5 separate regions of the Homo sapiens genome follow, and regions 1, 3, 4 and 5 are each linked to region 2. Evidence: promoter capture Hi-C in 16 types of primary human blood cells and fetal thymus (Javierre and others, 2016). All regions are on one chromosome and are shown on one strand. Each heading gives the region's core, a stretch centred on a gene start or on the middle of the fragment in contact. The rest is flanking DNA. Distances are from core to core; before and after follow the strand shown.

Region 1 (6,032 bases), core at 1,032-3,531, 71 kb before region 2:
TGCCTTAAGATTCATGGCCAAAGAAAGCCACTACTACTACCTGATTTAAAGATTTTGTCCTTAGGTGGGTTGGGGAGGAAAAATTGTTGAAAACCACCCTCCTAGAGACTGAAATTTCTTCTTTCATCCAAGTCAACTACACTTAATATAAATGTAGATTCATAATAATCTGTTATAGAGAAATTGCTCTTTCAAAATATTTAACACTGATTTCTCACTAGGTCCACTGACAAATATATTTCTCTCCATTTACTGAGAATTGTACTTCTTTGTAAAATCTATTCTTTTTAATATTCATTACTAACTTACTGACATTGTAACACTTACTGATTTAAAACAGTTCCCTTAAGCTCAGATTTAACATTCTTCAGTTGGCTTTCTTAATGAAAAAAGGCCTATAGGTATTTATAATGTCAGGAAAGTACAGGAAAGAATAGTCTAAGCAGAAAGTGGCATTTACCAAACTTACTCATTGCTGATCTCTTACTTATAATATAGCCAAGTCTGTATTTTTGTGTTATCATATATAAGGATAGGTAGTAGTTAGATAATTAAGAATGATTTGACTTGTTATATTTATTTTCATTTTTTTGAGACAAGGTCTCACTGTGTCACTCAGGCTGGAGTGTAGTAGTTCAATCTCAGCTCACTGCAACCCCTGCCTCCTGGGCTCAGGTGATCCTCCCACCTCGGCCTCTGTAGTAGCTGGGACTACAGGTGTGCACCGCCATGCCTGGTTAATTTTTTAGTTTTTTTGTAGAGATGGAGTTTTGCGATGGTGCCCAGGCTGGCCTTGAACTTCCTGGGCTCAAGTGATCCTCCTGTCTTGGCCTCCCAAAATGCTAGGATTACAGGCATGAGTCACCACACTTGGCCTTGATTTGGTTTTAGAATGGATTCTTGGATCATTTTTTTTTTTCCTTAGGGATTATACAGTATAAGTCAGAGTCATTTTCTGTGGCAATCCTGTCTTGAGTAATTAAGAATTGGCCATATGTTAAAAAGGTTGGTAGTCCAAAAGGTGAACTAAGAATAGCAAAATATATATGTGTGTGTGTGTGTGTGTGTGTGTGTATACACACACACTGTTAGCCATAGTTTTTCAAGTGTCATACTTATTGCTCCCTTATTATCTAAAAGGTCTGTGAGTTAATAAGGAGAATAGACAATATGTGATGTGAGTATTGAACAGCACTAAATCTTAATGTTTATTGAAATTACTTTGTTTCATTGCAGGTCAGACATATTTCCAACATTTGGGTCAAAACCTTGTCCAACAAGACTTTCTTCTGCAAAGAAAAAAATTTCTCATATTGCTGAACAAAGCCCCAGTGCAGGTATTCTATGTCTGTTTATAAAAATAATTTATAAAATATGATTTTCAAATGATGTAAAAAATGATAGCAAGTGCATTTCAGATTTCATGTTGTTGTGCATACTGGTTAAGACTAATCATTTTTTTACTCCTTAAAAGGTCCTTTTGACAGGAATATGATATTGTTTTGGAAGAAAAAAATATTTATTTACCTGAATCATCAATCTCTTTTAAAGCTCAATTGGCATACCTATGGCTGGCTCCTACACCTAGATTTTTTATGTAGTTGGTGTGGAGTGTTATTTAGCTGGTGTTGGCTGTCAGAATTTTGAAAACTCCTCAGATGATTCTAATGTGCAGCATAGTTTGGGAACCACTGGACATCCCGAAAGACAATTTTCTTTAAAAACAATATTAACTGTTAATAGTAGTTAAATTCATGTGTATCTTGTGTTAAGAATTTTTGTGAACTAACCTGTAAGTCTTTAGTTTTATAACATCACTTCTCAGAAAATAGATTTAGTAATTAGTAGTCAATTAGAAAAAGATTTGCACTATGATCTATTTAGGGTGAGAACTGCATGTGATTCTTCATTATGATTAGTAAAACTACGTTGAATTGTGAATAAACTGTAACAAATTGGTATATGATGTTTAGTTTCACATGATCTAATGTAAAAGTCCTAACAACTTTAAGCTGCTTTATATTATAATCACCTTCCTAAAAAACTGTATATGTATTTGATTATTTGCTAAGATTTTAAATTTCTTGCTCTTAAATGTGTCTTAATCTCAACCCCTCTTTGTAATCCCCACTACCATGGCTTTAGTTCACACTTTTCCTCATTTATTACCTACTTAGCCGCCTAAATTTTCTCCCTGCTTCAATCTCACTTACTTTGAAACTGTTCCCCACAGTGCAAATCTGACTATACTGGCCAGCCTGAATTCATTCTGGACATGCTTTCATGATCTGGTCCCAGCCTACCTCTCCAGCCTCATTTTTCACTGCCCTCTTTGTATCTTGTACTTTCCCTGTTTGTATCCAGTTAAATCAGACCACCATCAGTACCATTTCCTATCTCTTTGCAAATGCACATACTGTTTTTTCTGGATGAAATCTAGAATCCATACCACACCCTATTTAGCTGTGAAAAGAGCTCAGTTGCTTTCTCTGGGAAGCCTTCCTTAATTCACAAACAAGATTATTACCTCTTTTGTTATACCATTACATCTTGCACTGACACCTTTTATAATGATACTACAATTGCTTTACTTTTCTTTAACTCTCAGATTCTTGATCCCCAAAGATTATTTCCCACTGATTACCTATCAAGGCTTATCATAATCGGGAATGTGTGACTTAACCAGGTGTGTTTAGTATACTGCCTTGCATAAAACTAGTGTTAACAAAGAGATAGCTGCACTTCTAGGCATACAAAGACAGTATATAAGTGCTTTGGAGTCCAAAAGATGAGCTGACACCCCAGTTTGATGTTTAATAATAGTATTCATACATTACACAACTTACTTAACTGCTTTGGAACTTAGTTCCCTCATCTGACAACATAAACCTTGAGAAGGGTAGTGAAAATCTAAGTTCATGACATATATAAAGCAACTAGTGCATAGTAGGCACTCAATATGTATTTGTCCTCTAAGGGGAGAGAGTGACCCAAAGAAATACATAAACTTATCCTTAATCCTTTTTCAGGCTGATCATCCTAATCTATAATTTTTCAAGTATTTCTGTAAAATTGAAGAGACATCTGATTACTAGATTGTATCTACTTTGTAAAAATGGAACCCACTTTTGGAAGAGTATCTTTGGAAATGGAAAATAATAGATTTTAAAAACCTGGATTTGAGTTCCCTTGTGACCCTAGTCGTGTGACCTTGGGAGTCATTTAAGTTTTAGCAGAGTGATCTCATAATAGTATAATACATACTTATATATGCAATATTTAGTGTTTTCCAAAGTTGCGTAATCTTTTTTTTTTTTTTTTTTTGAGACAAGAGTCTCGCTCTGTCGCTGAGGCTAGAGTGCAGTGGCGTAATCTCAGCTCACTGCAAGCTCCGCCTCCCAGGTTCATGCCATTTTCCTTCCTCAGCCTCCCAGGTAGCTGGGACTACAGGCGCCTGCCACTACGCCTGGCTAATTTTTTGTGTTTTTAGTAGAGACAGGATTTCACCATGTTAGCCAGGATGGTCATGATCCACCCACCTCGGCCTCCCAACAAAGTTGCCTAATTTTAGGAATCACCCTTGAGTGCATGTAACATCTGTTAATTCTGGGGCCTCATCTCATGCCTCATGAATTCATCTTTCTGGTTAGAAATCTGTATTTTTAATAAGTAAATTAGGTATTTCTAGGATCAAGTTTTAGAAATACTACTATTATTGAATTCATTATATTAAATTTAACCTTTTCTCAAAATAAGTTGCTAATGTTTCGGATTTTATATATTTGGGTTTGCTTTGTTTTCAGTAAACAAGTGATTCCTACAAATTTATTGTGGCTTAATTGGTAAAACATAAAAATGATAACGCTCAGAATAAAGACTATTGGATGATAAACACAAAAATAACAATTATTTTAAAATTCCACCTATGTTCTGCCACTACCTATTAAAGCAAATTGTGCTAAATTTTCTGAATGATATTACAGTAAACTTCTTCTAGTATATTAGATTAGTGTTGCCTATTAATAGAAAACATTTCCACCCAAAGCCAGTATGTTTATGAGTCTTATTTTATGAATTAACTATCAAGACAGAATTTATAAAGATAATCTGTGTTTTCTACAAATTCTCTATGATTTAATATTGGATATTCTTGAAACTTTTCTCTGTGAACTTACTTAGTGCCCTTTATTCTACAGTCCTTTCTAGCTTGTTGCCCCAGCTACCTCCTCTTCCTACCTTCCTGTTTTTATTCAAATACAACATTATTTTTTAAAAGTCTATTTCACTGGGCACAGTGGCTCACACCTCTAATCCCAGCACTTTGGGAGGCTGAGGCAGGTGAATCACTTGAGCCCGAGAGTTTGGGACCAGCCTGAGCAACATAGCAAAACCTAATCTCTATCAAAAAAATTAAAAAGTAGCGGAGAATGGTGGCGTGCGCCTGTAGTCCCAGCTATTCAGGAGGCTGAGGCAGGAGAATCAGGAGAGCCCAGGAGGTTGAAGCTGCAGAGAGCCAAGATAGTGCCAATGTATTCCAGCCTGGATGACAGAGCAAGAGCCTATCTCAAAAAATAAATAAATAAATAAATAAATAAATAAATAAATAAATAAATATATTTATACATATATACACACATCATTATTGCTTAATAGTTTACATTGGAAGTATATATAAAAATGGACAATGACTCAAATATATAATGCCTAGATTTTGCATTTAGTATATGTTTTATGGTTGTAATAGCTGCAGAGTATTCATAAAGAGTGATGAGTTTAAACATTCAAATGTAAATTAAAATTTTTGTTATTCATTAGAAGGAGACCTACATTAGGGTTTTGCTTTTTTTTTTTTTTAAATTACGGATATAATAACATTTGGGTACTTAAAATGTGTTAGGCACTGTGCGGAGCCCTTTATATGCATTTTCTTCATTTAATCCTAACAACAGATGTAGAAGAGGTACTATTATCTCTATTTTACAAATAAGGTTGAGTGACTTGTCCAGGTCTTCTCAGCAGTTTGAGTGGCAGTGCTGTAATTTAAAGCCAGGAAGCATGATTCCAGATACTGAGCTCTTTATCCCTATGTAGTTTACTGCCTCATCAGTGAAGCCAGTACAGAAGGTTAAATTTCATGGTGAGTTAACTTTTAAGATTTAATATCTCTAAATCAGAATCTTCCCTAAGCATACCAATAAAGAAAAATTACTGAGTATTCTCAGTTTTCAGTTTTTTCGTTTTTCATGGGAATAGGAGAAAAGAGAGAAATGGGGAAATAGCTATCTCTTAGGTCACAGTTTGTAAATTCTGGATTAAAAAAAATTTTTTTTTTTTAGTGTAAAGTTAAAGGTGTCAATTTAAAAAAATACTTGTCAGGCCAGGCACAGTGGCTGACACCTGTAATCCCAGGACTTTAGTAGGCTGAGGTAGGCAGATCACTTGAGCTCAGGGGTTTGAGACCAGCCTGAGCAACATGGCAAGACTGTATGTCTACAAAAAGTACAAAAATAAGCTGGAGGTGGTGGTGTGCACCTTTGGTCCCAGCTACTAGGGAGGCAGAAGTGGGAAGATTGCTTGAGCCTGAGAGGCAGAGGTTGCAGTGATCTGGGATCATGCCACTGCACTCCAGCCTGGGGAGACTCTGTCTTAAAAGAAAAAAGAAGCCGGGTGCAGTGGCTCACGCCTGTAATCCTGGCACTTTGGGAGGCCAAGGCGGGCGGATCACGAGGTCAGGAGTTCCAGACCAACCTGACCAACATGGTGAAACACCGTGCTCAATTACAGGAGTGAGCCACCACACCCGGCCCACACCCAGTGAATTTTTTAATTTTAATTTTTGATGGAGGTGGGGGCTTGCTTTGTTGCCCAGGCTGGCCTTGAACTCCTGGGCCCAAAGAATTCTCCTGCCTCGGCCTCCTGAAATGCTGGGATTACAGATGCGATTCACCATACCTGGCCTCATTGTAATTTTAAAGCCTATTTTATGAAATGTTGTAGTATAGCATATAATAAATGTTCTTACCTGCTAAGAA
Region 2 (5,208 bases), core at 137-2,636:
GTTAGCTTGGAAAGTAGAAGAGGCAAATGGAAAGGGAAAGCTACTACTAGGTGCAGTGTGATGCAAGTAAAAGGTAGGAAAAAAGACTGAATTTGGTATTTCGAACGAAAGGTGCTGGTGAGAGGATTTATGATTAACCTGCGTTGTGACAAGAAACGTCGTCTTGTAAATAAGTATTTCCAGAGGAGACAGATTTCAGATGAGGAACTTGGAGCCCAGTAGTAATACTAATGCACCTGGAACAACAGATTACATGGTAAGTGACAGGTGAATGCGGGGGCACCAATGTAACAGAATCTTAAAGGGAGAGAGGCCAGATTTGAAAGAAAATTTTTTTTTATTAAAGTGGAGATGGTGGTACAACTGAAGAGGACTGCTAAGATTGTTAACGCACAGTCCCCCTCAATTTGTCCAGAGGATAACATATCCCTTCAGATACAAAGATTTTTTTTTTTGCTTGGCCAACTTTAGTCAGGTTTCTGAATCTTCTGCTAGGCTCTTCTGTACACTTTCTTTGTAAAATCCAGTTTAAGCAAAGAACTTTGCTAAGTCAGATTAGCAATAAACCCCCATCCTTGATAGCTGATCATCCTCAATATCTGATCAGGTTCTTCAGTCTCCACCATCCCCCAGGTGATGCCTCATTATCTTGGCCTGTCTTCAGCAAAAATCCTATTAGGTGGGTTTAGCCAAAATCCCCCTTACCCTGATGTTTCCTCTTAGTAATTATACATTCACTTACCACCGCTCCTTGGCTATAAATCTCCACTTGCCCATGCTGTATGAGGAGTTGAGCCCAATATCTCTTTCCCTACTGCAAGTCTCCATTGCAGTCAGTGGTCCCTATACCTGTTGCGATGGTCCTGAATAAAGCCCTCTTTTTGTGCTTTAACAAGTGTCACTAAATACTTTTTTCTTTAACAATAGCCCGTTCTCCAAACCCCTAACTCCAGAACTGTTTAGTTTTCAGGAAACCTGAGTGGGCCCAGGGTCTATACCATCGTGAGATTTGTGGGTTTAAGGCTGAATTTCTGCCCGTTTTTAGGTAAATGTTTTAGTGTGAAAGCTTGAACAATTGTAGGGAAAACCTTAGATTTGCCCCCAAAAATGACATTTTGCCGTTTTTGGTGGGGAGGGGTCAGGGCGCTGTGTTTAAGATCAGGCGTGTGAAAGCCCCTAAACGCCCTCCTTTCCTTTGGGAAGTCCCTATGGAGGGAAAGGCAGGTAGGCGCAGCGGTCCCCGCCCTCGCTCGCGGCGGGGCGGGGCGGGGCTGCGGGGGCGGGGCTGGGGCCGCACGGGCAGCGAGGATCCCTGGGAGGGCCAGGCCTGCGCGCTGCGAACCCACGTGACTTTTTCGCCTCCAGGGACACTGACGCATGCGCATCGTGCCCTGGACCAGGCGGCCGTGGCGCGGGTGGCGGCTGCTGTGCTGGCTGTGGGGACGGAGGCGGTGAAGTGCCATCTTCGGCTAGGTCGTCACAGGCTCCGGCTCATGGCATCAAGTGGCATCCATCATAAGGTCTGCTGGGGCGGGCTCCTTGAAATTAGCTGGGGCAGAGGGTGGTACTTGGTACTGAAAGGGGCCTGCCGGGTTTCAGGCCGCGCTCTGGCCGCGGCCTCCCTCTCCCGCCCTGTTTGAGGCCTGGCTCGGATTCAGCGCTCAGCTGTCCATTCCTTTCTCCTTCCCACCTGTTGGGTGGAGCGGTGCAAGGTATTTTTTTCTTAGACCAAACGTTTCACTTGAGGGGTGCGTTAGGTAGGGTGGAGAAGTGTGGGCCTCCTTCGCCTGGATTTAGGAAGATATTTGGGGGTAATTCTAAAGCCCTTGCTTCTCCCGGAGCTGGAACACGGCTGGGGTGGCTGGAAGTGGAAGGAGCACATTTGCAGCCGCCAGAGGATTGGGAAGATAATATACGTTCTATTACTAAGGCATGTGAGCGCCTTGTAGGGCACGTTCTGTCTTCTGACTACATAAGCAACACTTTTGCGACCCTAAGTCACAGCACCCACAGCTTTTGGCAGGATACTTTAAAACAGAAAAAACACATCATTGATCCTGGCAGGATTTTTTAAGGGATTGTGCTTAAGAATGTTTAACTTTGGTAATCAGAGACCACCACTGGTGTTTTTCTCCAAAATCACATCTTTAAGTTAATTAATACTTGAAGTTAATAAATAATACTGCTCAGTGTATTAGTAATGATGCCATAATACCATGTGAATTTATGCTGATTCAAATGTTGTTTTTTTCGTTTGATACTCATATGGCCTTCTGTTTGAGGACTTCAGATTATTTAGCAACTGATTTAATCTGTTCAGAAATAAACTTTGCTACAGCTGGAAAGCGTGAGGCTTGAGAAAGCAAGTTTTGGACAGGGACGTATGAAGCTCATGTTGAAACTTAAGTGTTTTAGGCTGTATGGGAGCTTGAATGGAGTGAAAAGAACAAGCGTCTACTGTCAGGTTTTCCTCCTCCCTCTAGATTTATAACCTCATTCTAGAGTTGCAAAAGTTGGAACTTTCCACTGTTCACTCTCTAGTAGGGATAAAGTGATGGAAAGGAGTTCTGTTAAAGAGGACTAGTACTTAGATTGTGAACTTTGAAGTAGGGGTTGAGCATAGATGGCTCATAGGTGGTATGAGACACTATTTGTGTAAAGTCTCAGAATATTTTTCCTTGCTTATAATTGAATAAGAAAGAAGATGTTTAAAAGTCAAATGATAAAAATTGTATGTGCTGTTTTCTGTGGTATGTTTTAACAAATCTACATGGAAGATAGGACTTCAAAAAAAATTAAAAATAGCCGAAGGAGGAAGAAGGTAGTGTAGTTCCAGCCAAATGGTACGTTTTCCAAAAAGCCGAAGATTGATGTAGACGTTTATGTAAATACATATACAAAATCTAGTTTCTGGAACACAGTGTTTAATATGTAGAGACTTTAAAAAGTCGGCGTGTGACTACTTAGCCCTTAAAAACAGCTGCCAAAACCAGTGGTTATGATAGTCTCTTTTCTTCTTACATCCCAAATCTCCAGATTGCCTTGTGGATGAGATTTGCTTATTGCAAAGCTACTTGTTTTGCTCTACCCAAAACTCCTTTCAGTCTTTAGTGATGACTTCAGATTTTTATATATTGCTGTGTTTATGAAAAAGAATAGTCAATGGTATAATTTTTAAGTACCTCTACAGGAATAAGAGGCATACAGAAAAAAAAAAAAAGGTATTAGGTCAAAAGATGGCATTTCACTCTCGTTGCCCAGGCTGGAGTGCAATGGCGCTATTGGCTCACCGCAACCTCCGCCTCCCGGGTTCAAGTCATTCTTCTGCCTCAGCCTCCCCAGTAGCTGGGATTACAGATGCGCGCCACCACGCCTAATTTTTTGTATTTTTAGTAGAAACGGGGTTTCACCATGTTAGCCAGGCTGGTCTAGAACTCCTGACTTCAGGTGATCTGCCTGCCTCGGCCTCCCAAAGTGCTGAGATGACAGGCATGAGCCACCGTGCCCGGCCCAAATGTCCCATTTTTAATTAAGTGTTAGTAATTGAAGTCATCCTCCAAAAGACCTTTTAAATTTTAAGATGGCATAATTGTCACTGAAATACTTAATGTACGTCATAATTATACTAAAAGTGAAAGGTATGATAAATGTATTTTTTATATATTGCCTATTCACTTTATGTTATGTTTCATTTTATACTTGTGTCCTTTGTGCCTATCATATGATTTTATAATAAAGTGTAATGTAGTGAAAAGGAATCGACTGGTTTGGTGAGTTGAAAAAGGGAGGACTTTTATTAGTCTGGGGGAACAGCTTTTGTCAAGGCTCAGAAAGGAAAAATCTAAGGGACTCTGGAAATGGCAATGAGGAGGAGTATTGTAAGATTAATACTTTTGGAAAGTTAAGTTGAGACTGGATATATCATTCAGAGATATTTGTTGTGCTGTTACACGGCAAGTATTATTTCAGGTTCAAGGGGGACAGCGGTGAACAAAACTGATAAGGCCTCATTCTCACCCAATTTAATTTTTTTTTCCTTTTACTCTTGTTGAGCTGTGATCAGGAAATTTAATATTCGAGTAATATTAGTTTGCAGTAGTGCAGCAGTGTTTCTCAGTTTTTTTTTTTTTTTTTTTTTTTACTGCAGCCCACAATAAGATGTACATGGACATCACTAACTCAATAAACAGTTCAATTGTGTGTGCTTCAACAGTGTGCCCTTAATGTGTGCATTCACTGTGGTATATCTGTTTTTCTACATTTAAAAAATGAGAAACTGGTTTGAAGCAATCTGCATTTGAAAACATTGATCCAGAGGGGAGAAAATAAATACTTAAATTATAACACTAGTAGTGTGAATGGAAAGAAGGGGATAGTTAATTTTTTAAGGTGTATTATTTCGCTCTGTCGCCCAGGTTGAAGTGCACTGACATGGTCAGCCCACTGCAACCTCCACCTCCTGGGGCTTGGGTGATCCTCCTGCCTCAGCTTCCCAAGTTGCTGGGACTACAGGTGCGTGCCACCACACCCAGCTAATTTTTAAATTTTTTTGTAGAGACAGCATTTCCCTATGTTGCCCAGACTGGTCTCGAACTCCTGGACTCAAGCAGTCCTCTCACCTCGACTTCCAAAGTGCTGGGATTACAGGTTTGAGCCACTGCATGGGTGGCCCAGAGTGTATTATTTTTTTTGATGGACAGATCTTAATTGTATACATCGTGGGATAGGGGATCATTCATTTTTATACCGAGGTATGTTTGAATATTTTGTGAATGAGGCTTAGAGAGGTTAAGTAATTGGCTCAGAGTTCCCTAATGAGTAGCCAGAAGACTGTTTTTTTTTTGTTTTGTTTTGTTTTTTTTGAGATGGAGCCTTGCTCTGTCACCCAGGCTGGAGTGCAGTGGCGCTATCTCGGCTCACTGCAACCTCCGCCTCCTGGGTTCACACCATTCTCCTACCTCAGCCTCCTGAGAAGCTGGGACTACAGGCGCCCGTCACCATGCCCGGCTAATTTTTTTTTTTTTTTTTTTTGTATTTTTAGTAGAGACGGGATTTCACCGTGTTAGACAGGATGGTCTCTATCTCCTGACCTCATGATCCGCCCGCCTCAGCCTCCCAAAGTGCTGGGATTACAGGCGTGAGCCACTGCGCCCGGCCTCATAAGTGTTCTTCTGGCCTCTAAAACCCAAGTACTTATCACTTCCCATT
Region 3 (5,773 bases), core at 530-3,029, 71 kb after region 2:
GGAATGTGTCCTTCATTTTTCCATGAGAGTAGTGGTTGAAAGCACAAGGCCTCTTAGCCAAAATTCCTGGGTCTAAATAGTGGTTCTGCTACTTAACATTTGTATGAGCTTCCTCATCTATAAAATGAGCATAACATAGCTACCTGCTAGATACTAAGATTAAGTGAATTGTGCAAGTAATGTGCTTAGAATAGTTTCTGGGGCTCAGTGTCAGATATTTTCACAGGACGTATACTTGGTATTAAAGGTTGGCATTAAAACAGTCTGATTAAATATTTGTACTTTTGCCAGTAACATTCATGAGGATAGGCCATATCTAACTTATTTCCCATTTCCATTGTATCTAGCTCAGTGCTTGACAGGTAGTAGATGCTTACTATATAGTTTTGAAAGAACAAATATATCTATATACTGCCAATTAATTTACCTGTAAAGAAAAACAATATAATTTTTTTTTCCTTTACTTATTATTTTTAAAATGTAAGTTTCCTGTTTAATTAAAGAAAAAGAAATAAAGGGGCAGATTTTACATACAAAATACATTGGTACCTTTCCATAGCAACATCCTATAAGATGACATTTAATAACCAATCGGTTATAGCAGTGTAGAAGGGAATGATGATTATGATCATTTGGATTATATTATAAATGTTACACTGACTATGGCCTGACAACTTGGGCATGGAGCATGTATGTTCATTTATTTCTCTGGTTAAATTTGACATATGCTGTTTTTCTAGGGAATACAACAAGGCATAATCGAGGGAGAGTTTGCTATTTGTATTAGTTTATATCATGGTTATGAATTATTGCAGCAAATGGGAATGAGATCATTATATTTCTTCCTTTGTGGAATTATGGATGGAACTAAAGGTAAATTATATCAAATTATTTAAAGAAATAATGACATGTATTATTTTGGCTAAAGACATATTGAAGGGCTGGGCACAGTGGCTCATTTCTGTAATCCCAGCACTTTGGGAAGCCGAGGTGGGTGGATCACTTGAGGTCAGGAGTTCAAGACCAGCCTGGCCAACATGGTGAAACCCTGTCTCTAATAAAAATACAAAAATTAGCTGGGTATGATGGTGCACGCCTGTAATCCCAGCTACTCAGGAGACTGAGGCGGGAGAATCGCTTGAACCCGAGAGGCAGAGGTTGCCTTGAGTCAAGATCATGCTGCTGCACTTCAGCCTGGGCAACAGAGTGAGACTGTCTTAAAAAAAAAAAAAAAAAAGACATATTAAAGAGTTTGGATTACTTAAAAATGATTTATTTTAAAAAGCATTGGAATAATTAACAAATGGCCATGTTTCTTTGTTTTTAATAAATTCCTGGAGAAAAGGAAACCATTCATTAATACATATATGAATGTAGAACTGCAAAAAGTTTCTGGTTTTCATGTTTACACTTGAAAAACTTACATTCATTGCTAAAGTTTAATTTCTTTTTAATAAATAATACATTTTATCAGTTTTATTATTATTTATTTGAAAACCTTTTCTTAATTTCTGAAGGGATGACACGGTCAAAAAATGAACTTGGCCGAAATGAAGACTTCATGAAACTCTATAATCATCTAGAGTGTATGTTTGCACGTACACGTAGTACTTCAGCAAATGGTATTTCTGCTATCCAACAAGGTCTGGTTTTTCTTTTAAAATTATGTATTGTGTTGTGTTTCTTAATCACAGTTAATTTTGAAATTTTGCTCCTTTGATGCAAATGTCTACAATTATTTATATTTTGTAGCAACAGATCTGTTAAATGTGTAAATATTTCATTTTTTAAGATTAATATATATTCAAATTTAAAGTTTATATGCTTTAAACAATGTTTAAACTTCTTCAAACAAGTTTACAAACTTTAAACATATAACAGATGTTGGTAATTGTTAGTGGTAGTAAAAATTCTCAGAACTATCAAAACCTGATTTATAGTTAGATATGTATTTTTGCTTTCTTTGCTACTGATTCCTCTTTAGGTTCTCTCAGAATGAAATTTTTATGAAAGTTCAAAGTTCATTTTACAGTAAGACTTACGTGCTACCTAGATGTTACCTCTGGTTTAAGTTTTTTAAAAATTAAAAAAAAATCCAACATATGCATTGGAAAAGATAACTTTCATATACATTAGTGTAATTGAATATGGAAAAAAACAGAAAAAAATTTTGATATTTTTGTTTTGTTCCAGGAGATAAAAATAAAAAATTTGTTTATAGTCATCCAAAGTTAAAGAAATTAGAAGAAGTTGTAATTGAACACTTCAAGTCATGGAATGGTAGGTCATATTTAGTAGCTTTAAGGCAAGACAAAGTTATTGCAAGAGGTAAAACTTTACTTATGGCTGGGTGCAGTGGTTCACACCTGTAATCCCAGCACTTTGGGAGGCCGAGGATCACGGGAGGTCAGGAGTTCAAGACCAGCCTGACCAACATGGTAAAACCCCGTCTCTACTAAAAATGCAAAAATTAGCCAGGCATGGTGGCACATGCTTGTAATCCCAGCTACTTGGGAGGCTGAGGTAGGAGAATCGCTTGAACCTGGGAGGTGAAGGTTGCAGTGAGCCGAGATTGTGCCATTGCACTCCAGCCTGGGCTATAAGAGCAAAACTTGAAATAAATAATCTCGAAAATAAAACAAACAAAGAAAAACCTTCAACCTATTAGTTTATTCTAACATTTCTTATGGAGAAGGTGGGCTTTTAATTAACTCTGGATAATGAATACTAAAAAGCTGTGAGAAATTTTGGAAGGGCTAGGGCAAGGGTGGTGGTGGGAATGTTAAGAATAAGGTACTATATAAGTTAGCATGGGGTAATATAAGGGAAGTGGAGAGTAAAACAATATATAGTACCAGTAAAAGAGTAAAGTAGATTAGGAGAGAGAGAGTTATAGAGGAGTGCTGTTTTATATAGCATGGTTATAGAAGACTTCTCTGTAGAGGGATATTTAAAGTGATGATGGAGATAAGGGAGGAAGCCTTGTGAGTTTTGGAGGCTGGGGGAGAGATAATTCCAAGCAGTAAAAATAGCAGATTCAAAGGCCTTGAGGTGGCAGTAGGGTGCTTGGTGTGATTAAACAGACCAGTGTGGTTAGATTGAGGCTACAAGTATGACTGAGCCTACAAGTGGTATAGATGAGAGGTATGCAGATAATATCAGACTTTAGTTTTTAATTTCTGAATATTTGTGCTTTGCAAAACCAAACAGAGGTATTTGTAGCAGTGGAATGACATGACATTTTAAGGATCACTCTGGTAGTTTTGTGGAGCATAGACATTGATAACCTAGAAAAGTATTACGATAGTCTTGGATGATGACACATAATAGTGGTGTTCATCAAGGCAATAGTGGTCAAGGTGCTGGGAGATAGATTCTAGATATATGTTCAAATTGGAGCCAACTTATTTATTGTATTTGTTGATGGATTAGACGTATGGTATAAGAAAAAGGGAATTGGCCAGGTGCAGTGGCTCACACCTGTAATCCCAGCACTGTGAGAGGCCGAGGTGGGCAGATCACGAGGTCAAGAAATCAAAACCATCCTGGCCAACATGGTGAAACCCCGTCTCTACTAAAAATACAAAAATTAGCTGAGTGTGGTGGTATGTGCCTGTAGTCTCAGCTACTCGGGAGGCTGAGGCAGGAGAATCTCTTGAACCTGGGAGACGGAGGTTGCGGTAAGCCAAGATTGCGCCACTGCACTGCAGCCTGGCAAAAGAGTGAGACTCTGTCTCAAAAAAAAAAAAAAAAAAAAAAGGAAAAAAGGAATCATATGGCTGGGTATATACATTTATGTGTACATGTTTGCAAATGATTACATGAGCAAAGTGAAAAATGAAGAATAGAGATAAGTATGTGAGGTAATATGTATGTTAATTAGCTTGATTTAGCCATTTCACAATGTATATAGACATCTCAAAACATATTGTACAACATAAATATATACAACTTTTATTTGTCAATTAAAAAAAAGAATAACAAAAGAAAGAGCAAACATGTTAAGATGTTTTTGAGACACCTAAGTGTCAAGTAGGCATTAGATAACCAAATCTGGATCTCAGAAGAATGATTGCTGCTGTTTTTACATATTTACATATATGTGAATACATTTTGGAGTTATCAGCATAAAGGTAATATTTAAAGTTTCAGGAATAGATGTGATTATCAGGACAACAGTTTAGAGATATACAGAGGAGGGTCCAGAATGGAGTCCTGAAGAATATCAACAGTTAAGAGTTTGGAGGAAAAAAAGCTTGGGGAGGAAACTGGACAAGTAAAATGTTAGAGAAGCTGAAGAAAGAGACTATTTCAGAAGGAAAGAGGAAAGTGTGTTAAACTAAAAAGTGTCGATTGAACTTGGCAGTATGGAAGTTATTGATGATTTTGCTGAAAGGAGCTTTAGTGGAATGAGGGTAAAAAGGCAGGCTGTGACAGATTGAAGGAGATACAGGTTTTGTGATGAAAGTAGCAATTCATTCAGGAGCTGGTCACATACAGAGACTTGATGCTTGATGCAATGATGATTCAAAAGAAGTTTGTTTAGAATAATTTTACTTGGAACAGCTGCTTCTTCAAGTCCTACGTTTTGTTTTTGTATTGTAAATTAACTTTATATTTAATAAGTCATTTATTCCTTAGAGGAGTTGTGAAGATTAAATGAGTTAACATACATAAAATGCGTAGTGCGGTCCTTGGAACACATATGATGATTAAGATAATAAAAATCAGTAGAGGTTGGATGTCGTGGCTCATGCCTGTAATCCCAGCACTTTGGGAGGCTGAGGTGGGCAGATCTCTTCAGCCCAGGAGTTCGAGACCAGCCTTGGCAACATGGCAAAACCCCGTCTCTACAAAAAAATTTTAAAATGTAGCTGGGCATGGTGGCATGAGCCTGTAGTCCCAGCTACTCAGAGCATGAGGTGGGAGGATCACCTGAGCCCAAGAGGTCGAAGCTGTAGTGAGCCATGATGGTGCCACTGCATTCCAGCCTAGGTGACCAAACATGACCCTGTCTCAAAAATAAAAACAAACAACCAAAAACCCCACACAGTATGCAATAATTAGCCAATTACTATATGTGCAAAACTATATACTGTTTCATTTATACATCAATCCATATTAGATATGAAGAAACTAAAGCTTAAAGAGTTTAAATAACTACCATGATCACCAATCACCCAGAGAATTAAGTGCCCAGCCACAAAGATCATGTTCTTATTAGTGCATTCTACTGCCCGCCACCCCCCTACCTCACCCGCCCCCCAGCACAGACATATCGGGAGCAGCTTTGGAATTCACTGTAGGGTATGTTCTGCAGTTGTCTTTGGAGAATTTGAAAGTATAGTAGATTTGAGGACAGAATGCATGGCTTGGATTAAGACATTTCCTTTAGTGAACAGAAAGGAAAGGGAAGACTTATGAAATTAGGGGGAGCTGCATAGTTCTGTGCTTCTGGCCATCTTAGAAGGTAAAGGGAAATGATAGCCATTATGCCTGAGTTGAAGGACTAGTCAAAAGTGATTCAGATAATTCATATTTGATTTGTTTAGGATTTTATTTTATGACAGCCAATGGTAATAAGCTAAGATTATTAAAATTAATAGAGAATATAGTTTAAAAAATTTCAAGATGTTTGAAATTATTTATTTATTTGTATGTTTGTTTATTAGAGACTGGGTCTTGCTATGTTATGTTGCCCAGGCTGGTCTTGAACTCCTGGGCTCAAGCGATTTCCCCATCTCAGCCTCCCAAGTAGCTGGGACTATAGGTG
Region 4 (6,052 bases), core at 3,408-5,907, 120 kb after region 2:
TATTTTATATTGTATACATTTTTATTTATAGATTATAGAAATTATTAAAAAAGAAAAATCTGATGTTCAGTGATCATTTTGACTAGATTATAAAACTAATTTTTCTTATTAAATAAAACAAGGTTTATTAAAAGTGTTACTAAGGATAGTTTAAGAAAGTAAAAGCTAAGCTAGAGATATACTTTGGAATGTTTCCCAAAATTAAAGTTGTACTGTTGTGATAAATAGTAAAGTTGACATGTCTATGACTACAGCCAACTTGTCGATTTTCCCTATGTGTAGATAGTATACTTTTAAGTGTACTGATTCTAAATACATGTACTTGGTAAGGTGTGGGTGATGGGTGGGTTGTGAGATAAATGACCCAGTAACTAGGAAAGTAGAAAACTTAACTGAATGTTTATCTGACCAAAGGTGTGTCCCAGTTAAGTACTGTCAAATCTATTAATATGAACTCTGATATGGTTTGGCTGTGTCCCCAACCAAAATCTCATCTTGACTTGTAATCTGAATTATAATCCCAATATATTGGGGAGGGACCTCCTGGAACGTGATTAGCTCATGGGGGCGGTTCCCCCATGCTGTTCTAGTGATAGTTCTCAGAGGATCTGATGGTTTTATAAGCTTTTCCTCTGTTCACTCTGCAGTTCTCTTGCCTACTGCCATGTGGAAAAGGAAACGTTTGCTTCCCCTCCACCATGATTGTAAGTTCCCGAGGCCTCCCCAGCCATGCAGGACTGTGAGTCAATTAAACATCTTTTCCTTATAAATTACCCAGTCGGGTTATTTCTTCATAGCAGCGTGAGAATGGACTAATACAAACTCCCAGCTACATTACTCTTTTTTGTTGCTGAAATATATTCAAAATGGTATATTGGTTTGGACTTAGAAAGTTTCTTTTTAATATAAATTACTGAATGCAGGCCCATTATGTTGACCCTATTATATTTACCGTTTTGATCCATTCTGTTGTCTGTGATGGCATTAAGAAGGCTCTGCTTGGGGCCGGGCGCGGTGGCTCACGCCTGTAATCCCAGCACTTGGGGAGGCCGAGGGGGGCGGATCACGAAGTCAGGAGATCAAGAACATCCTGGCTAACACGGTGAAACCCCATCCCGTCTCTACTAAAAATATAAAAAAATTAGCCGGGCATGGTGGCAGACACCTGTAGTCCCAGCTACTCAGGAGGCTGAGGCAGGAGCATGGCGTGAACCCGGGAGGCGGAGCTTCCAGTGAGCTGAGATCGTGCCACTGCACTCCAGCCTGGGCGATAGAGCCAGACTCTATCTCAAAAACAAACAAAAACAAACACAAACCAAAAAAGAAGGCTTTTCTTGTATCTGCAATATATATGACATCTTTCTTCTAGTCAGTCTAGTACTAAAGCAGCCTTGAATTATGTGAGTCCTTTATTCTCGGCCTCATTTTTACCCCTATTACATTGTTGGGTAGTTGAACCAGCCTCACTGCAGAGCTCTCCTCACCTTAAATCTGGCGGGGACTTCAGAGCTCATGTAATTCAAATCACTTCTCTTTCCTTTCTTACCAAATGATAAAAGTGATGCCCAGAAACAAGTGACTTATTCAAGTTTAGACTGGCAAATCTAGAAGCAGAACTCACAAACTAGGTATCATTCTCTTTCACTCTATGGTGTTGATAAAAGGGGACAAAAAAGTTACTCTAATTGTTTAGCTCCTTTGAGATAGTATCAACTCTCAATTTGTATGAAAGCAGCTGACTTATGTATGCTGCTCAATAATTCTGTCAAAACCACAGAGAGGAAACACTAAGTTATTGCCTAGTGTGCAGTTATCAGTTTATTATAACTGGACTTTTTGAGTATTTCTCCTTTAGTAGTGAGCACAATGCTAAGCTGTGACAGGAGGAAAGGAGCCTCTTTGTGGTTCCACTGTGCTACATCTTCATGTATCTTGCTCCTGCCACATTGTCAGCAGGGCCTGTGGGTAGGGACATCTGGTGGTGCTTTGCCCCAGCTGCATGCCAGAATCATGCAGTCCCTCAACAACCTCACACAGAGATACCACCACCTGCTCAGACTCAGCTGTGTGTGCACCCGTCAGACAAAAAAAAGTACATAAATTAACATGGTGTTACAGACATAACCTAGAGGATTTCATTTATTTATGCTTGCTGTATGGAGAGCTCTATCCATATTTAGGCTTGCAATAGCCTCCTCCTATATCCTCATTGGTAGCCATTAACCATTCATTATCCATCTTATTATTTAAGTCCTTAAGGTCTTTTTTCTTTTCCACTTTTAAGTTTCCTTTGGGGGTTACTTACCTTAAACCTTATCATTAGTTCATCTTATGACCTGATAGAAATAGGACAAGCCAGGTACCTGGCCGGTGAGATACCTTAGTATAGGGAAGGCGCTGAAGTTCTGATACGGATATATGGGCAGTAGGGGTCAAACTCAAGTTTATGCCATTTCAATTACCTTTTTACTTTTTGTTAAGGGATTTAACCACTTTCTTAACTCCTAAAACACTATCCATTAACTTCAAGCAGTATAGCATTAGATCAAATATTGGCAACTCAAGTTCTGCAACGGCATTTTTTTTGGCCACTCCAAAATAACCCTTTCTTTTGATCCATTCTATATCCACCAAGGGTCTTTATGGCAGAAATAATCATGGTAGTTTAAAGAAAGAATTATCTTAGTCCAATTGCACTGTTCTTTTTACAGTGTTTCCGTAAGTCCTATAATTATATAACTGCTGATTATTACTATTTTATTTTATTTATTTATTTATTTTAAAAGGAGTCTCTGTTACCCAGGCTAGGGTGCAGTGGCCAGTTGCAGGCATGATCATAGCACAGTTCAGCCTTGAACTCCTGGGCTCAAGCTATCCTCCTTCCTCAGCCTCCCAGGTAGTTGAGACTACAGATACATGACACCATGCCTGCTCTGACTAAAACACTTAAGAAACAAGAAAATGTTATTAATCATTTTTTTTTTTTTTGAGGAAACTTAAACAGGACCAGTCATGATTTGTTTTTATTTCTATCATCCAGTAATTAGTAACAAACAAAAAACAAGAAACAAATACTATAAAAGCAAACTAACTTTATTTGAATAATCTAAATAGAGAACAAGGGTAGGTGAATGTGTAGCCAGAGGGAAAATATCCTATGTCAAGTTTCAAAACATAACAAGCAAAAATAAGTTTATTTCTAAAAGAAATTTCAGTGAAAGAAAAAGGATGTTTATTATGACATAATATATTGATTCCTAATGGTGGATCTATTAACTGTTTGTCTAATCTAGTCAAAATATTTAAGCTGTTTCTGCATATGTAAATAAGGCTTAAAAATTAGAGAACAAAATCTGTTCTCTAATTTTACCTAGTAAAATAATGGTAAAGCAATAAACTAAATTTACAAAGGTTTCATAGATATGCCTATCACAAGTTTAAAATAAAAACAATCAGGAGAGAAGCATGTCAACAATGTGTAATTTAATTTCAACAATGTGTAATTTAAACATTAGGTTTGGATAACAACTGGTAACAAATCCTACTCTGGCTTGGATAATAACTGCTAACAAATGCTAACTTAAAAGTTTTCATGAATTCAATAGCTACCAATACAACCTCTGTCATCCTTCTCACCTTCTCTTACTTAAATGGTAGCAAAATTTTCTTGAAATAAAAAAAAATCTGTTTGGGAAATGGTTTTCTTAAAGTAAACAGACTTGGATGCTTATTAAAAAATTATCTATATATATTTTAATATGCAAAAACAAATTTACAGATATCTACACGAGCAAAAACAATTTTCTTTACATTTTTAGTAAGCTGCAGCAATGAGGATATTTTACTTTGAACACAAACATATGAAACCTTCAAAAAAGTCCACATTTTCATAGGAAGCTACTTTACAAAGAAAATACATGTACTCCAGTTGAAAATACAAACACTGTCTGCTTTATGGTAAAAATCCCAGGAATCATATTTTCTCATTTTACTATGCAGAATCAGAGTTCGAAAAATAATAATCTTTCTCTTCTTCATCTAAAGATTCCACAGCATTAGTGAAAAGTTTTCCAATACCAGAGTTTTCTCCTAAGTCTGTAAAGAGAAGTTTAATAAAAAGATAATAAATTTCTAAAAGTACTTTCAATAAAACTGAAAACAACTATAAGGAATAAAATGCTAAGTCTGTCCACTTGAGAGCAATTAATTTTAATACCATTTAAATAAAGAACCTACCTTATAATAGAACTGAGCCACAAAAGAAAGCTGTAAGTGTATTACCTGTGTTAAATGGGGTTTTCCTTCTTGGTGTTGGAGTTGAGAAATCAGTTTCAACCTATAAAAGAGTTACTATTAATAGCTAAATGGTACCTCCTGGTGAAGTCTACCTCAAATCTAGACAAAATTAAGCATGCTTATCCCCAGATTACTTTGAACATATGCCTATAACAACATTTAATCACATTATAATTATCTGTGAAATGCATAATTCTCTTTTGGGTTTATCCAGGGCAAGAACCATGACTTACTCAATGTTGTTTCCCAGTGCTGGCAAACACTCCTCTAAGAAATTATTATAAACTAATGCTATAGCAGTTAAAGGATAGTCTATGGGCCTCCAAAAGTTGCCAAAATGTGCTAAGTAATTAAGTAATGAATATACTGGTTTGGTAAACTTAAAATATAAACACAATTTATCATGATTATATATAGTAATTATAATTACAATACTATACTGTACTATTACAGTATAGTAATTACTATACAGAATACTAATTACTGTATTACTTTTACCTACAGTCTGTTATTATAACAGTACAATGTTTTATACCAGCAGAATTTTAATTCTCTGTACTTGAAATTCTTGGCTAAAATGGTAAAGTAAATGGCAAGTTTGAAGTACATGCTCACACACATTACAATGCTTATCAAACTATTGGCCATGGCTGGCAATCCTTAAAAATCTTTTAAAAATAAAAAGTAACAGAACAGAAAATATAGTAGCCCTTAGAGTAAGTACTGTTTTAAGAAATTTTTGAGATACAAATTCATGCTCACAGACTGTGATATAAATGTATTTTTTTCTGAGATGAGGTAAAACACTGCATTATATCATTTAGACCTCAAAATCATTTGGTAACATAAATCAATATAATCATGATCCCCATTGTCATACCACACATGAATAAAATGGTATTAGAAAGCTCAAGTAACTTGCTCAGTGTCATAAAGCAAGGGAATCAAGGGGGTTCCCATAAGTTACCATTCTCGAAGATTAGCTACTTAGAGGAAATTTGAGATGAAATACTTTTTCCAGAATCCTAGTACTTATATATGATAATCAGTTATTGCAATTAAAATCAGAAAATTAAAAATTTAAAAAGTAATTCAAGGGGATAAAGGACTGTCCTAATCTTTTCTCTAAGGGATATAGATCATTCTATTAAGGCATCTTTCAGTTAAAAATTTTTCTGTAGTTGGATTTTAAATGTTAGAATGTAAAAAAATAAAAAGTAAAAAAATAAAATTAAGTAGCTAAATCTGAAAAACACCTGAAGCCATTTTAAAGCTACATAGAATTTGATGAAATTTCTTACTTTATGAGAATTGTGACTCAGTCTGAATTATTCTTCAATCCTTGAACAGGATTGTTTTTGTGTTTTGTGTTTTTGTGTTTTGCCTGAAATATCCTTCCCAGACCTCTGTGTATATTTTTCCCACCCTTCATTTCCCAAAAATCAAAGTTTTTAGCCATTTTCCCCTTGCTCCAATGTTTCAGTCAATGTGATGCCATCTGTAATCCTACAGTACTTATGTGCTTACCTCATTCATGGCTTCATTATTGTAACTTGTTACATTATAATCACCTCAGGGACAGGGACTGTTACATGACTTACAACTACCACAGTTTATCACATATTAAAGTTGTTTCATAGATATGTATTGGATAAAGAAAAATACTTACTAATTTTTTCTTGATGTTGCCCCAGACAATACCACCATTACTTTTATGATATTTTTGCATACGAAAAACATATTTATCACAGTCATT
Region 5 (4,146 bases), core at 1-2,500, 100 kb after region 2:
GAGAATTTTCCCAAACCATGTTCACAATTAGAAGACTTCAAGGTTTGTAACGGGAATGCCAGAAGAGGCATCAAAGTCCCAAAGAGACAGAGTCACTTAAAGGTAATCTTTTTTTTAGTTTCTTTAAATATGTATGCATTTTATCAGTAAAGATAATTGGTTTTACATCAATGTAGATTTCTCTATACATTCTCTTTATAGAAAAAAATTAAGTATTTTGACACCCATTTAGATTTTTTTTACTGGAATTAAATTCAAAGTAGTTTTTTTTTGTTTATCTTTGTGTTTTGATGCTTTATCTTGCAGTGTTGTGTTACTTTGAATGAATACCAAAAAACTCAAGTGTATTGAGAATTTATGTTTCAAATTGAAGAAAATATAGAATTAGAAATTTGAGTTTTAAGATGTTTGCTTTTATGATCATTATATTGTTTTTCTTATTTGTATCCAATTTTCAAATACTTGGAAAATGTTCTCAGTACCTTTCCTTTCTGATTAAGTTCTTTTGTGGTGCAGTAATTTTCTTGAAAGAGCTGGAAAGACTCAGGAAATTTTATGCTTATTAAGAAACATCAAGCAGGCTGGGCGCGGTGGCTCACGCCTGTAATCCCAGCACTTTGGGAGGCTGAGCCAGGTGGATCACCTGAGATCAGGAGTTTGAGACCAGCCTGGCCAACATGGTGAAACCCTGTCTCTACTAAAAATACAAAAATTAGCTGGGCGTGATGGCACATGCCTGTAATCCCAGCTACTCGGGAGGCTGAGGCAGGAAAATCTCTTGAACCAGGAAGCGGAGGTTGCAGTGAGCCAAGATTGCGCCACTGCACTCCCGCCTGGGCAACAAAGTGAGACTCTGTCTCAAAAAAAAAAAAAAAAAAAGATCAAGCAAATATACCAACTTTTACTTTATTTTATGACAGAATTATCAGAATTTTTAAATAGATAGGTAACTTTATCATTTCTTCTTGGGATTTTCTTTTTTTTTTTTTTAGACAGAGTTTCGCTGTTACTGCCACAGACTGGAGTGCAGTGGCACCATCTCAGCTCACTGCAACCTTCACCTCCCAGGTTCAAGTGATTCTCCTGCCTCAGCTTCCCGAGTAGCTGGGATTACAGGCATGCGCCACCACACCCTGCCAATTTTTTTTTTTTTTTGTATTTTGTAAAGATGGGGTTTCACCATGTTAGTCAGGCTGGCCTTGAACTCCTGACCTCAGGTGATCCACCTGCTTCGGCCTCCCATAGTGCTGGGATTACAGACATGCATCACTGCACTGGGCCTAGAAATTTTGTTTTTATTATTTTATTAATCTTAAAAGCATTGATAAGAAATCAGTTTTCCAGAATTATTTCCAATCATGAAAGAAAATTATTTTCTCACTGATATCTTCATGTTTTCTAATTTGTCTTACTTAGCATGTAGCTAGGAAGTTTTTAGATGATGAAGCAGAACTTTCTGAAGAAGATGCAGAATATGTTTCATCAGATGAAAATGATGAGTCAGAAAATGAACAAGATTCCTCATTACTTGACTTTTTAAATGATGAAACTCAACTTTCACAGGCTATAAATGGTAAATGTTATAATGATCCTTAAAATTTTTTTCAATGTTTTTATGTGCTTATATTTAAATATTTTAATCAGTTTTTAATGAAACTAGACCTTAAAGGTAATTAAATGTGGTACGTGCAAAATATTTATTTGGTCATTTTCATTCAAATTCTTTAATACTTGCTTTATTTTAGACTGATTGTTCATAGGCTTCTGCTAATTTGAATATTTCTCTTCAGATTGACCTGGGTTGCTCAAGTGTGAAATGTTCATTTCACAAGTGTTTATTGCCCGCTACATGCCTAGTACTATGTAAGGCATTTAAGAACCATATATGAATGAACAAAATAGACAAAAAATTTCTTCTTATGAAGCCTACATTCAAATGGAAAGAGACAGACAATATATATACTAACTAAATTATTTAGTTTATTGTAAGATAAAGAGTTACAGAAAAATAAAAAAGTTGGCCAAGATGAGAAAAATTTGGAGTAACTGGGGTTGAGGGTATAAATAACAGACAAGTTGCCATTTTATTGTATTATTTTTTAGTTTTATTTTTTTAGAGACAGAGTCTTACTCTGTTGCCCAGAGTAGGGTGCAGTGGCGCAGTCATAGTTCACTGCAGCCTTGAACTCCTAGGCTCGGGAGATTCTCCTGCTTTAGCCTCCTATAGGACTACAGGCATGTGCCACCATGACCAGTTAATTTTTTTGGCCTTTTGTAGAGATGTAATCTCACTATGTTGCCCAGGTTGGTCTCCAACTCCAGGCCTCAAGCAATCCTCTCACCTTGGCCTCTCAAAGTACTGGGTCTATAGCTGTGAGCCACTGCACTCTGCCTAGCTGTTATTTTAAATAAGGCAGTTAGGAAGAGGCCTCATTGAGAAGGTGACATCATCAGAGACTAGAAGAAGAGAGATTTAGTGATGTAGATTGTTAAGACCAACTGCAATACAAAGCTAAATTTATTAAATTTGCCATGTAAGGGCAGTTTACTTTCAGAAAACAGTGTGTTCATCCAATGCTTGAACGGATCTTACATACAATATATTTAGAGGAGATGGTTCAGATTGGCTGTAACAGAAGTGAGAAATATTCTGACTATATCTCTTCAGTATTCTAATCTTTCACAGATCTCATCATTTATTCTGCTTTTGCAGTCTCTGATATTATTTAAAGTGACAAAGTTTCTCAAAGTTCGTGACTTTTAAGAAAAAAGTGTTTAAAAGGCAATGTTCTCAGTACTGTCCTTAATGCTGATATAATTTGTATAATTTGCAGGATAAGGTTTTATGTCCTTGATGTTCATTAACAGAAGTGTTTTGCAGGTTTACAATATAATCCAGTGGAAGAATGTTGATGCAAAGACAACAGCCAGTGCAAAGGCCCCGAGTCAGTAGTGTGCCTGGCCTGTTGAAGGAATAGTGTTGTGACTGGAATGAGGGAAAAGGGAAGGTAGTAGGAAGATCAGAGAACTAGCAGCCAGATCATAATCTGACATAATTTAGTAGAATCTCTCCAGCTTCTGTGTTGAGAATGGCCTATAGGGGAACAGAGGTAGACTGAGACCAGTTAGGAGACTGTTGAGGTCCTCCAATCAAGGAATGCTAGTGGCTTCTACCAAGATAGTAGCACTGAGGAGAGTGAGAAAGATTGGATTCTGGATACATAAAGCTGACAGGATTTTCCAATGGATTAGAAAAAAAGGAGGAGTCAGTAGGCTTGAGCAACAAGAAGGACATATTTGCTGTTATGTTATTGGGAAGGCTGCAGATGAAGCAATTTAGATGGTGATTATAGAGGTTTGAAATTCCATTTTAGACACAGTATGTTTGAACTATGTACAATTTCAAAGCTTTTTTTTTTTTTAAAGTACCTCGAAATTCACATTATCTTTTGTTTTTATGTATCATGTCTCAAGTACCTTTCATTATATTATAACTTTTAAAAATGCTAGCCATAAAAAAAAACCAATGTGTTTCCCAGGTTTTGCTTAACTGAAAATTATGAAATATACTTTTTATTGGCTGTGGGTTTTAATGTTTTTAGTGCATATTTGCTTTTCTGGCTAGATTTCTTATTTTTTTTGAAACTTCTATAAATCTGGTACAGTTTTAAGGTCTTTGTATACCTTTGTTTTGAAAGAAAAGTCACCATTTTAATCCTCATTTTCAGAGAGATAGATAAAGCAGGGAACTTAAGTTGTCCATGATCACTCAACTAGAAAATCTGATTTCAAAGGCTAAACTCCTAACTTTATATTTTTGAATAATTGTTTATAGATATCTTTTAATATTTATTGTCTTTGTGTAAAATATTTGCACAAGGTTTGAATCAAGTAAATTTGAAATAGATTGAAGTTAAATACTTTACTGGTTTTCATTTAAATAATTTTGCTAATTTATCTAAATTCTTATCTTTACACAGATTCTGAAATGAGAGCTATTTACATGAAATCTTTGCGTAGTCCAATGATGAACAATAAGTACAAAATGATTCATAAGACACATAAAAACATAAACATTTTCTCGCAGGTATGAACTATAGAAATATAATGGAGAATTTCTGGATGATGATGTTGAAATATGTTCCT

Evidence for each region. The method cuts DNA at HindIII sites, captures the fragments that hold promoters and counts their contacts. A CHiCAGO score of 5 or more calls a contact.
Region 1: a contact is called between a fragment that was not itself captured here and the fragment with the promoter of PRPF39 in region 2, in 5 of 17 cell types (activated CD4 T cells, total CD4 T cells, naive B cells and 2 more). The highest score is 7.4, in activated CD4 T cells.
Region 3: a fragment that was not itself captured here is called in contact with the fragment with the promoter of PRPF39 in region 2 in 9 of 17 cell types (monocytes, total B cells, total CD8 T cells and 6 more); the score reaches 8.7 in monocytes.
Region 4: a contact is called between a fragment that was not itself captured here and the fragment with the promoter of PRPF39 in region 2, in 2 of 17 cell types (monocytes and total CD4 T cells). The highest score is 5.9, in monocytes.
Region 5: a contact is called between a fragment that was not itself captured here and the fragment with the promoter of PRPF39 in region 2, in 2 of 17 cell types (monocytes and total CD8 T cells). The highest score is 7.9, in monocytes.

What each region holds. Positions count from the first base shown.
Region 1 is chr14:45,010,739-45,016,770 of GRCh38, forward strand. It overlaps TOGARAM1 (TOG array regulator of axonemal microtubules 1), which reads left to right. Exons shown (of 20, transcript NM_001308120.2): 7 at 1,237-1,337. Among named protein-coding and RNA genes, the nearest start is that of TOGARAM1, 52 kb to the left of the region's middle. The HindIII fragment of the contact is 9,107 bases long and covers 1-6,032 here.
Region 2 is chr14:45,082,730-45,087,937 of GRCh38, forward strand. PRPF39 (pre-mRNA processing factor 39) reads left to right here and starts at 1,387. Exons shown (of 14, transcript NM_017922.4): 1 at 1,387-1,520. PRPF39-DT (PRPF39 divergent transcript) reads right to left here and starts at 1,297. Exons shown (of 2, transcript NR_184211.1): 1 at 743-1,297; 2 at 319-658. RefSeq lists a silencer at 1,092-1,381. The HindIII fragment of the contact is 5,294 bases long and covers 1,065-5,208 here.
Region 3 is chr14:45,153,180-45,158,952 of GRCh38, forward strand. It overlaps FANCM (FA complementation group M), which reads left to right. Exons shown (of 23, transcript NM_020937.4): 6 at 741-873; 7 at 1,518-1,643; 8 at 2,194-2,280. Among named protein-coding and RNA genes, the nearest start is that of FANCM, 20 kb to the left of the region's middle. The HindIII fragment of the contact is 4,947 bases long and covers 1-4,253 here.
Region 4 is chr14:45,200,118-45,206,169 of GRCh38, forward strand. It overlaps MIS18BP1 (MIS18 binding protein 1), which reads right to left. Exons shown (of 17, transcript NM_018353.5): 15 at 5,966-6,052; 16 at 4,282-4,336; 17 at 3,073-4,095. The coding sequence ends at 3,992. It overlaps FANCM (FA complementation group M), which reads left to right. Exons shown (of 23, transcript NM_020937.4): 23 at 1-773. Among named protein-coding and RNA genes, the nearest start is that of MIS18BP1, 50 kb to the right of the region's middle. The HindIII fragment of the contact is 8,070 bases long and covers 623-6,052 here.
Region 5 is chr14:45,183,801-45,187,946 of GRCh38, forward strand. It overlaps FANCM (FA complementation group M), which reads left to right. Exons shown (of 23, transcript NM_020937.4): 17 at 1-102; 18 at 1,417-1,573; 19 at 3,981-4,087. Among named protein-coding and RNA genes, the nearest start is that of FANCM, 50 kb to the left of the region's middle. The HindIII fragment of the contact is 4,311 bases long and covers 1-3,406 here.